Linked DNA regions of Homo sapiens: region 2 is linked to region 1. Evidence: promoter capture Hi-C in human tissues and cell types (Jung and others, 2019). All regions are on one chromosome and are shown on one strand. The core of a region is centred on a gene start or on the middle of the fragment in contact, and the rest is flanking DNA. Distances in the headings are between cores, read along the strand shown. Region 1 holds the start of OSBPL1A (oxysterol binding protein like 1A). Region 2 overlaps IMPACT (impact RWD domain protein).

Evidence for each region. Contacts are between HindIII fragments. The study calls those that stand out against the background at their distance.
Region 2: a fragment that was not itself captured here is called in contact with the fragment with the promoter of OSBPL1A in region 1 in 1 of the 25 tissues and cell types used here (spleen).

Annotation. Positions count from the first base shown.
Region 1 is chr18:24,396,574-24,402,803 of GRCh38, reverse strand. It overlaps OSBPL1A (oxysterol binding protein like 1A), which reads left to right and starts at 4,980. Exons shown (of 28, transcript NM_080597.4): 1 at 4,980-5,149. It overlaps LOC124904268 (a long non-coding RNA gene), which reads right to left. Exons shown (of 3, transcript XR_007066314.1): 3 at 89-1,704. RefSeq lists a silencer at 4,917-5,046. The HindIII fragment of the contact is 24,691 bases long and covers 1-6,230 here.
Region 2 is chr18:24,445,818-24,452,047 of GRCh38, reverse strand. IMPACT (impact RWD domain protein) reads right to left here. Exons shown (of 11, transcript NM_018439.4): 9 at 3,865-3,955; 10 at 2,095-2,229; 11 at 1-1,269. The coding sequence ends at 1,201. Among named protein-coding and RNA genes, the nearest start is that of HRH4, 12 kb to the left of the region's middle. The HindIII fragment of the contact is 7,986 bases long and covers 1-6,230 here.

The sequences.
Region 1 (6,230 bases), core at 3,731-6,230:
AATGGGAGAGATGAGAACAGGAAAGGGGGTAGTAATGGTGTATTAGGCTCTTTCTGGGCTCAAGGAATAGAAAAACACTCAGGTTACATCAGATAAAGAGTAAGAATTTATTGCAACAATACAGAGACATAAAAGCAGAGACATCACGCTGCTGCAGAAGGTTGTTGAAGATTTAACTGCAGCCCACCATTCTGGACCTCTCAGCAGGGGGCGCCATCCTTTGCTCCCTACCCTAGTGTTTCCGCACTCTGGGGTCTCAATCATTCTCTCTCTGCTCTTGCTTCTGCCGCTCCTGGTCATCTTTTCTGTATTCTCCTTTAGGCTGTCCCATGGCTTCTGCTTACTCTCTGCTCTCACTTCCCTCTGTGAGCCTTTCTGCATCTACCTTGACTAAGGACTGTCCTTTGCATGCGTCACGGTTAAACCTACCCAAGAGAGAAATCTAGATGGTTCAATGCTACTCAGTATAGAGATTTCCTGTTGGGCAAAGCACATATACCAGGCCTTTGGTAAGCCTAATAGAAAGGTGCCATTTAGGAGGCCCTGCTCTTGCTCCTTCAGCTGAGCCAAGAATTGTAGGTTGCATAATGAAGTCCTCAAAAAGGGGCAATAGGCAGGGCAGACTTTCCAAGGCTTCCTAGAAGGGGTCATGTGACTGTCAGGCACACTGCTTGAGCAGACAATTAGGGATAGAAAAGCGGAATATATTCTTTTTTGTTTGTTTGTTTGTTTGTTTTTTGAGGCAGGGTCTCTGTCTCCCAGGCTGAAGTGCAGTGATGTGATCTCAGTTCACTGCAGCCTCCACCTGCCAGGTTCAAGTGATCCTCCCACCTCAGCCTCCTCAGTAGCTGGGACTACAGGCCACACCACCATGCCTGGCTAATTTTTGTTTTGTAGAGACAGAGTTTCTCCATGTTGACCAGGCTAAGCAGGGTATATTCATGATGAATAAAGAAAGGCCAGGTGAGGTGGTTCATGCCTGTAATCCCAGCACTTTGGGAGGCCAAGGTGGGCAGATTGCTCAAACCAGAGTTTGAGACCACCCTGGGCAACATAGTGTGACCCTGTCTCTATAAAAAATAAACAAAAGTTAGCTGGGCATGGTGGCTCGCGCCAGTAGTCCCAGCTACTTGGGAGGCTGAGGTGGGAGAACTGCTTGAGCCTGAGAGGTTGAGGCTGCAGTGAGCCATGATCATGCCACTGTACTCTAGCCTGGGTGACAGAGCAAGACCCTCGTCTCAAAAATAAAAAAAATAAAGAAAAAAAAAAAGAAAAAGCAAGCTAAGGGCTAAAGGTTGAGTTGAAAATGTTGCCCAAGGAGAACATACCTTATGGGAAAAGCTATGAAAGACTATCTCTCAACTTTGCTTCTTCTGAAGAAAGACAAAAGGATAGGAAAATGAAAATAATTGGAACATATTCTTTCCCAGTGTTGGCACTGAGGAAAAACTATAGACTATTCCTACTACCCACATCCCCAGGAGTGCCCTAATCCGGCCTTTGCCAAGCCAGATTTCCAGCTGTTTCTTTGATGTCTGAGTGATATATTCTTTATTTGCTTAAGTTAGCCAGCACCAGTGCTTGCTGCTTACAACCAAGAAACTCTACAGAAGACATAAGGGTCTCTTCCAAACTTTTTGTGTGGGGAACCAGCAAAATCAATCACTGCTGGAAGGCAGTTGCTTAGACATCTGTGTGTCATACCTGCAGGAAAAGAGAGATGGGTACAAAATTAAGTCTAGACCAAAAGAATTTAATATCTGAAACTATACCAATTCATTCCTGTTATTAAATAAACTGAGTGAAATGGCACAAATGACAAATAACAAATTTAGACCACTTTTAAGAGAGAAAAACTCCCAATGACCTCATAGCTTTGATGGTCTGGAGTTAATAGTAACTACAAAGTCTTTCATATGTAGGTATAAGGGAATGATTCATTTCCCTCAACTCAATGGTTTATCTGCATTCGCCTGATGACATCTGACCTACTTTTCAGTATTCCAGGCAGTAATTACCCAAAGCCCTCCCCAAAGTCTCAGTCCATAAAATCCTCCTTTTAATGAGACTTAAGCCTTTAGCGTGTTCCTGCACCACTTCAAAGTCACACTGGCACCAGGGGAGTGTTTTTAAAACATGCAATGCACTAAGTGCATTCTGGGATGTCTCAGGCTTGAGACAAAACTGCAAGGACCAGACATTAGGTACTACAATCTAAAGAGGATCACATTCTGAAGGAGGTCATTGGAATGCGGGGAGGGGGATGACAGTAGAGAGATTTGGGCTCCTAAGTTTCCTGAAACAAAAGAGTCCAAGGTGAATCCAGTCTGAACCAGGCAATGAACAATTCTGATGAAGCCCATCCCAGTCTTAAGTTACCCGGTTCACTTTTCAATGTGGGTCAGGCAGGCCCGGGAATGGCAGGGCCAGGGGTTAGATACTCCCAAATCCATTTCACAACCAGTCAGAGCTTCCATTGCAATTCCTACTTATATATGTAGGGATTATATTACTAGTTACTTTAATATGCCGCATCTGCAAAGTTAAAATATCTATCTGCCTAAAGCTCAGAAAGGAATATGAAGGAAAATATTTATTAACTAGTTCCAGAGGTTCTACTTCTGCCAAATGTTTCTTAAAATAGAGTATGATATGACGGGGACAATCTAGTGATAGTTTTGTTATTCTAGAACTGCACTGCCCAATATGGTAACTGCTATCCACATGTGGCTATTTAAATTAAATAAAACTTGAAACCGTCAGTCACACTGGCCACATTTCAAGTACTCAATAGCCACATGTGGCTAGTGGCTACTGTACTGGACAAGGTAGAATTATAGAACATTTCTATCATCGCAGAAAGTTCCATTAGACACAGTGTTCTAGAATAATGAATTCTGTTATGCCATCATGGTGATTTTACCTGTACTAGCCGTCAATAATATAAATGCCCATGAGATATCTTTTCTGCATATTTTATGGAAATACCAAATAAAGTCCTTTAAAGATACAGTATAAATAGTAATGCTATCAAGATTGGAACTTCTCTTATTGATAACTGTAGTGATTACTACTTCATCCTCCTATTGACTGCAATCTGTTTTTCATTTGCAAACTGTAGAAGGGAGTTGCAAAGTGCAAGTTGTGAATTTAGGTAATTAAATCATCACAGAGAGAATGAAGGCTTTCATGGAATCATGGAAAATTATTTCAGTAGCCAATTATTATTGTCATTATTTCGGTAGTTTTATTTTGGCTATGAAGATGGTTCAAGGCTGGGTGTGGTGGCTCACACCTATAATCCCAGCACCTTGGGAGGCTGAAGTGGGTGGATCACCTGAGATCAGGAGTTTGAGATCAGACTGACAAACATAGTGAAACCCTATCTCTACTAAAAATACAAAAGTTAGCCGGGTATGGTGGCACGCACCTATAGTCCCAGCTACTTAGGAGGCTGAGGCAGGAGAATCGCTTGAACCTCGGAGGCAGAGGTTGCAGTGAGCTGAGATTGCACCACTGCACAAGAGTAAAACTCCATCTCAAAAAAAAAAAAAAAGATGGTTCAATATCCTTAGATAGTAAGCCCTGAGGTTTCTTCTTTTCCAGACAAATACAGCTGCTTTAGTTACCACACATTTTGCAGTTGAAGTATTGTGCTAGTAAAGTGCCTGCTTTGTTAATAAAAGATGATGCCAGCCTGAGATACACCAGCAGGATTGCTTGTGGTATCCAAAAACATCATTTCAAAAGATCTGCCATATGCTGTTTCACACATATCACAATGACCAAAAGGGCCTATTATAGGTTCTCAATACATGCTTCTAGACTTGATGGAAAAACTACAGTCCTTTTAAAAATGATACCTATTTATTACTTTTTCATTGCAAAAGAACATGTTCATTAAATACATTTAGAAAATTCAGGAAAGCAGAAATCAGTTTTCGTATGCTCGTAATTTCCTGTCTTTTTAGTTATGCAGAAATGCTTTTAAAAAGCAAAGCTGTGGCCTGCAGGGGTGACTCACGCCTGTAATCCCAACACTTTGGGAGGCCCAGGAGTTGGAGACCAGCCTGGGCAACATAGGGAGAGTCTGTCTCTACTAAAAATACAAAACTTGTCCGGGCGCGGCAGGGCGCGCCTGTAGTCCCAGTCCCTTGATTACCCGCCTGTAGTCCAGCTGAGGCCGGAGGATCGCTTGAACCCAGAAGACGATGCTGCAGTGAGCCGAGATCGCGCCACTACACTCCAGCTTGGGAGACAGAGTGAGACCTTGCCTCAAAAAAAGAAAAAAACAAAAACGGTGGAATTATACTAGAGTTTGAACCTTCACGTTATAGACTATTTGCTAACTCCTCTAGCTAGACGCCTTGTGCATGGAATCTGGAGGAGAGGAGGTGAGGAAATTTTGTAAATCCTTGTCTCACGCATATCTATTCTATAATGGTTACACCTGTATGGCATTTTAAGCGCTTCCTTTCACAGGTGAAAGTAAAAGGAGGTGTTTTTTTGTAAATTGTCTAATTTACATTGCCAATTAAGTTCCCACGGGTCGAGTTGCAGCCAAAGCAAAAAAGAAAAAAATCTGGGCAGCTGGATAACCTATTGCTTAATGACAGACTTCAGACTATTAACCCAGGACTTATATTTTGCCTGGGGACGCGAGTCTTCCACTGGCTCACACGGGCGGTTCCTTGTAGTCTCCGGGTAAGGCCTGCCACTTCTTCCCTCGGGGTGTGGTGGGAGGAGCGCGAAGGCTTTACGCGTCCCTAGTAGCTGGCAAAACCTGGAACCAGCGCCGGTGGCCCAGGCGGGACAGGAGCGGGCCGGGGGCGTGGGCAGGCCAGGCAGGGGCGGGGAGTGGGCGGGGAACGGGCGTGTCCCCGCTGCGGTCACGTGTCGGGAGGGATGCCAGCTCGCCAGGAGGATGCGCGTTCCAGGGGCGGGCTGCGGGGAGGGGCGGCGCCACCTCGCGCTCCGCCGTGGTCCCGGCGCCGGGTCCCGGAGACAGACGTTACGCGGGCTCGAGCGTCCTCGGGGAGTGCCAGCCAGAGTTGGTGACGACCACTTCCTCGACGTGGGGCGGGCGGACGGGAAGCCTGGGGTCGTGGCCACCGCCTCGGGAGCTCTGGGAGCCCGGGTGACCGCGTAGGTCAGTTTCTCGCGGCTGTCCACGCCTGGAGTTCGAGGCCGGTTCCCGCGCTGACGGGTTCCCGCCGGGCTGCGCTCGGGAGGTCTGTCCGCGCCTGGTTGGGGGTGGGCGCTCCCGTCCCGGGCGTCTCAGAGGATGGTCGGGTCGTGGCGCGGCGACGCAGGGCTGCAGCCGAGCTCGGCTTCCCGGCGGCCGCTGGCTGCTCCAGCGCTGCAGGAAGTTAGGCGTTAAAAGTAACAAGATGTTGGCGTTTGTTGCACTTCCCACTCGGGTGCCACGACCATGCTGGTGCCGCATGCATCCCCTACCAGATCTTCAGCTGCGTGCCTTCTCGGTACTTTCGTGTGTCCATGTGACTTTTTAATTTCCTCCTAACAAGAGGAGGATTGATGCACAATGGAAGTCACGCATTGTTCATGTGACCGTTTCCCAATGTACCGCGTGGTCGGTTCTACAAGCATGAACGAATATCCAAGGGAGATTCTGAAACTGAATGAGAGCGCAGCTGCACAATAGACTTTAACAATTCACTTATCCCGCTGCCCTAATGATTGGCAGGAGGCATTGAAAAGGGTTATTCTGATTTAGTATTAGTTTTCAGTTCAAGTTGTCGTTTTTAGGCAGACGGTATTGTGAAATGGAACTGTGGGCAGTGTGATATTCTTAGCTTAAATAAGGTTGCTTGAATGTTGCAAATGTGGCTATTAGGTGTCTGTGAATAGTTAATAATATAATTAAATCAGCTTTAAAATCGGTGATGTGTTTTCCCTGAAAACTTCAGTCTTTGCCCTGTAATAGGTGCATTCTGGATTTGGAGTTTGGAACCTCCTCACCTCTTTACTCAGCATCTGGGAAATAATTTGCAGATTCGTTTTGAGGGGTAGAAGTATTTGCAGTCTAACCCCGATACAATGAATTTTTTGCAGCAGTTTGATAGGTATAAATTCTGAACCACCCCCCTCCCTCCCCACCCCAAGCTGGAATTGTGAAGATTTCTTAATTACAGCATAGTAACAAAATCCACCTTTTAATTCCCTAATTCTAAACCACTAGGTGGGCTTTGTCTACAGTTTATAGGGGG
Region 2 (6,230 bases), core at 1,735-4,234, 51 kb before region 1:
ATCAGTTAATAACTTTTAACAATTGTTTGCCATTACATCTGAAAGTGAACAGTTAATCACTTATTGTTATATCTCAAAGGTAAATTTCACTATCTAAATGCCTAGAGGTAACTGGAAGATGAAAGATACATAAAGGTTTGATGAATAGAGGGGAAAAAATGGGGGGGAGGGTTGTTTCTGTTTTTCCAATGAAAAGGTTTGCTCCTTCTCTCTGCAAAATCTTGGAACTGAGAAAGCCGTCTGGAGTGCAGATGGAAAGCATGCATCAAATTGATGTAACTACACAACATACTCCTGCCCTACACCAGGTTCATTCTGCCACCTCTATCCCACTCTACGAATGTCCCATTTGCCACAGCCTAACTTCTATCATAGTTCTAATTCCTCAGTGAAGATCACAAGAAAGGTACTTCCAGGTTGTTAAAAGAAACGAGAATGTTACACCAACACATTTCTGGGGTGGAAGGAGACTACTGACACTCCATATTTATTGCTTACATTACAAGAATTAAACAAAAAAAGCAGACTAGAAAATCACTTTCTGTAATTTCACAATCACCAATTTGCAACAGAAACTGAAGCATAATATTTATGCTAACAAATATGTTGGATGAATTATCACCTCAGCACATAACTGCAGATGGATACTCCTGGATTTTCACTTAATCCATTACTCAATGATGAACACTATAAAATGAAAGGTGACATACTTATGAACTAAAATCACAAGAAGAAACTCTCCAAGATCAATCTTAAATGAGCTCCTATTCCAATAAGCCATAAAGAGCAGTAAAAGGCAATATTCATTTAACAGTACAAGAATCTCGATGACAAGAAATCAGGTATTTATATTCCTCTAGAGACATTTCTTCTCCACCTAACAAAGGCACTTGACATGTACTGAAATGGACAGTTAATTCAGGTACTGCCCTGGGCAACTGTTACCTTGCTAAAATTAGATGAAGTGGTGATTAAGTTCAAATTAGTTCTCCCAAATAAGCCTGAAACACACATGAATAGATCATAAGTTCTCTATTTTTGGCAGATGATATAACCAAGAAGAAAAGCTAATGTTGGTATCCATGCTGAACTGGCTGACTTAAGCAGTCAAGGATACTCTCTCTGCACAATATATTCCTTGATGACTATGGAATGTATATATAATTATAGGCAAATTAACCTTTCCTATAGTTTCAGGTATTAATGTTCATTCCTCTTCTTGTCTTTTCTTACTTTTTTGTTCTTTCCCAAAGCCTTAGATGACTCCTCCTGAAAAAGACACAAATCAGTGCAGCATCTCTCCATTTACATAAAGATGAAATCTTCAATCTAATCACTTAGAATATATTTACACATATATATTCCACATATATTCATACATATATGTATGTATGTATATATGTTACAGTGAGGGTATAATCACTTTTATATGTGTCATTTCTGTGTTTTAAAGGGTACTTTCACTTATAGGCTAATATTTTTTAAACAATCAAGAATAATCAAGGAAACCTTATTTATCTAGTGGATTTATGTTTGAATAATTTCAAAATTATTTCATCTATTGCCCCACTTTCCCAAGGCAGTAAAATTTAAATAAGGCAGATATGAACATACCTAAAATATAAAACAAAATAAACTCAAAGTATAAAGGAAGAAAGCATCTAAAGGTATGCCAGTGAAGGGGGAGATGTTTTGACACTAACAGAGAATTTCAGAATTTTCTAGATGTTTAAAGAACATCTAGTCTGATGTGATATCAGCTACAACCACTCTGGGGCTCAATTTTAGGGATGGAACCTAGTTGGTCTTAAAAGGTTTTTCTAATTATAAAATTCTATGAACCTATGAAATCAAGGTGCGAAGGGATGAAGTGGTCTGTCCTATGAAATCAAGGTGCGAAGGGATTAAGTGATCGGTCCAAAGTCACGTGACTGGCCAGACACACTGTTTAGAGTCTAGGTCTCCAGGTTCTGAGTCCAAAGGTTTTACCAATTCACCACTCACATTCTGATTCATTCTTAATTTTCTGTCTTTTTAAAAAATTCCCAGGCAGTGATGAGAAATTCTCTAGATGTAGTACGAAGAGCCACTTACAGGTGAATTTGTGTAGTTCTTTTCCACTAGTATGTTTCTGGCACAGTTGTTGATATGTTTAAAGCGATCTGGTCCTAGCAGAATCCCTCCATACCAGCGTGATACTACCACCATGACATTCTTCACATTCAAAATCTGTTATTTTTTGGAAGCATAATTAGATACATAGACAGACATGTATAAATATGAGTTTTAAAAAAGGAGAATGAAATAACCCATGTATAAAATTGCACATAAAATTTCCCAGTGACTTTAATGGTAGAGCCATATGAGTGAGTAGGCACTGAGTGAGATTACTAACAATTCAGGGAGTGAAATGGAAGAACAGAAGGGAATCTGGAAAACCATCACTGTGTTTCACAATGTCCTCAAACTCCCAGATTTGGGGCAACTGGACAGAGTGAAGGGGAGACCATGCAAGTAGGATTCTAGCACCTGGTGACTTCAACCAGAACAGCTAAGTTTAGGCAGCATTTTACCACTAGGCCAAATAACAACAAAAAAAACCCTGCTTCTGAACAAAGCTACAGGGGCTGCACGAGGCATCAATATCCCTGGTGCTATTAGTAAGGTTTCATCAGTTGAGATCTAGATCAGTCTCACTCTGTCACCCAGGCTACAGTGCAGTGGCACAATCTTGGCTCACTGCAACCTCTGCCTCCTGGGCTCAAGTGATCCTCCCACCCCAGCCTCCCAAGTAGCTGGGACCTACAGGTGCATGCACCACCATGCCCAGCTAATTTTTGTGTTTTTTTAGTAGAGACAGGGTTTCACCATGTTGCCCAGGCTGGTTTCGAACTCCTGGGCTCAAGTGATCTCCCCGCCTCAGCTTCCCAAAGTGCTAGGGTTACAGGTGTGAGCCACCATACCTGGCCGTCTTCATCAGTTTGACATTTGTCAAATGCTGCCCTTAATGTGAAGCCCACCAGTTTACAGGCCTGACCCACAAACACAGTTACTATTCAAGGGAAAGGCCTTGTTAGAAAATAAACCTTCACATACAAGAGCAGAAAAAACCAGGTAACTACCTTAGGAAAAAAATAATCCAATCCTAAAATTAATGAACAATAAATGATCACCAGACAGATGAAGAAAATCCAGCAGCATGAAAGAGAAAGGACAAGATAAACAAACAAAAATGGACCAGGAAAAATTTTTTTAGGGGTGAGAACATCTTAAAAAAGAAACTCTAATTAATATAATCAGAGAAATTTTAGAAGATATTGGAGCCATAAAACAGAACAGGATATTCTTAAAAAGGAAAAACAGAAAACAAGAAAGAACTCTTAAAAATTAAATATATGGCTGCTAAACAAAATTTCAAATTCAACAGAAATTTTGGACAACAGTCAAGAAAATGTCTCAGAATATAAAGACAATGAGATGGACAACTCAATTTAAAAAAAAAAAATTCTGGATCTATCCAGAAGTTCCAATATCCAACTAACCGGAGTTCCATAAAGAAAGAATAGAAAAAATAAAGAGAAGGAAATTGTCAAAAAAACAAAGTGTTTTCCCAAAGTTGAAGACAATCTTCTATTGTCTATGTCTTGAAAGCATAGCACTTCTTATTAATTATTTGCTTTCTGTCCCACATCCACTGGTTAAAATTTTCATTCAATCAATATTTTAACATCAACTACTAATTAAATCAAATATATCTTATGTTACATAGTTCAACTGACTTAGCTATTACTAAATGGAGCTCTGTTTTGTTGAGAAATTTTATGGCTTGTACAGAACAGGATTGATAGTTTAACTTACACCTACCTCCATGAGATGAAGAAGACGCCCACCAGCTGCTGTTTCCCCATCATCCTCACAATCCTGTAAGAAGGTCTGTTTATCCTCACAATATATTCTGCAAATACATGTAAGAGTATTACACTTTGAAACTAAAATATTATAATAAAACTTATTCCTCAACATTTGTGATCATTTTGATTACTTCCAAAATCAGCATATTCATTTTTTTAAATCCTTCCTGAAATATGTATTATATTAGATATATTTTCACTGACGGTTTACTATCCAGTATGTTTGCCTTTTTATATACTTGGGAAAGCTAGGAATCAAAGGCATCTCCTTTATATCAGAAATGTTGCTATTATGGGAAGGTGAATTTATCCATGTGACATTCCCCTTACTTCATTTAACCTTGAAGTAACAAGAGCAATCATTGAAAAACATTTATTGAGAATATACTGTATAAAAGCAACAGGTACTAAGACATATTATAAAGGAAGTAAGTGGCATGCATCTGTCTTCAAAGAGCCTTAAGATGTAGTGAAACAAAAAGCATATAAAAAAAAGATGAAGGCAACAAAACCAACATAAGGTAATATTTTATACTTTCCTCTCATCTTATTCCAGCCATCAAGCATTTCTCTATTTTCTTCTAAGAATGTAAAGATTTAAATTTTCCTCTGGATGGTTACTAATATTAGAGACAAATCGTGGTATTTTTATCCATTTAAACTAGAAAGCTATATCTGAAATAATAATGTAGGCCTACAATACAGTAAAATAAGCTTGGCAAATAAGTGCTAGAGAGAGAAAAAAAAAATAGTGTCAGTTACAGTATGCCATCTGGTGGATTTCTTAGGGCCCTACCAATGGTATCATGTGGAACTGGGTAAATGTAGTAAAGACATCCTCCCAGCTCTGGCCATAAAAAGCTGTAAACTTTTAATGTAAATACTAAAAGCTATAAAAGCTCATCTACACACCTAAGTCAGTTATGTTACCTTACAGCAGTCACATTCATTCATTCACTCATCCTTCCTTCCCTTCATCCATCCATCCACTCAATAAATATTTACTGACCATCTACTATGAACATTAAAGTTAAAATACTATGAGTACTTTTTTCTTTTTTTACATAGCTTAGATACAAGATTGTTGAAGCTGTAGCCACAGCCATAGAGGAGTGAAATAAAGAAAACAAATGAAATTGGATTATCAAATTCAGCTCCATCACTTAACTATGGGATCTTGAAAAAGCTAACCTTTTTACAGTGCTAGAATTGCTAACTAATAAGAGTTAATTTACATAAAGTTTTGGCACAGAGTAGGCACTCAAAAAACATGTAGAATAAATGAACATTACAATTTTTACAGCCCATTTTAATGACTGAGAGTAGTCTAATTCCTCATTTTCCTATTGAAGGCCATAACTGCTTAAGAAAACATTAAAATTCTATCCAGTGATACTCTATTAAGAGGGGAATTACATAACAAATAATTGTTTGTAAGTTTTGGCACTTAAAGAGATGTGAAATTAGTAATATTAAGAACTCACCTACTCAAAATGATGAATTTTTGAGTTTCAGTTTCAGATAGCCTAGATTCTACAAATAGTCTCAATCACATTTTAAATTTACACCAAGTCCCTGTGTTCTGATTTATTTTAGGCCTAAACTATGTACTTTTAAAGTCTTACAAATTTGCGTATTTTTTCAAATGCCCTTCATCTCTTCACTTACAAATCAGCAAAGATGCATATAAAAACCTGAATTCTCAAAACTGAAACTCATGTAGTAAAAGAAATACTCTTAATTCACTGCTTACAGGAGCATAAATTGGTTTTAAAAACATTTGGGCTCACACCTGTAAATCCTAACACTTTGGGAGGCCAAGGTTGGCAGATCACTTGAACTCAGGAGTTTGAGGCCAGCCTGGGCAACATGGCAGAACCCTGTCACTACAAAAAAATACAAAAATTATGCCGGGCATGGTGGCTCGCACCTACAGTCCCAGTTAACGTGGGAGGCTGAGGTGGGAGGATTGCTTGGGCCAAGATCACGCCCCTGTACTCCAGCCTGGGCAACAGGGTTTTTGAGACCCTGTCTCAAAAACCAAACCAAAATAAAACAAAACCTTTGCAAGAAATTTGGCTATATATCAAGAGTTTCAAAATTGTTCACACTTTTTGATAATTCTACTTCTAAGAATTCTTTCTTCCTTTTATTATATTCCCATTTCATTTCAAAAAAGAATCTCAAGCAACCAGAACCTATCCTGAGGAAATAACCTAAAAAGTATACAAAGATGTTCCCTGGACCACTCTTTATAATGGTGAAAAACATGAAAAACTAAAAGGAAATGGTTAATTGTAGTATGGCATCTCAAATATT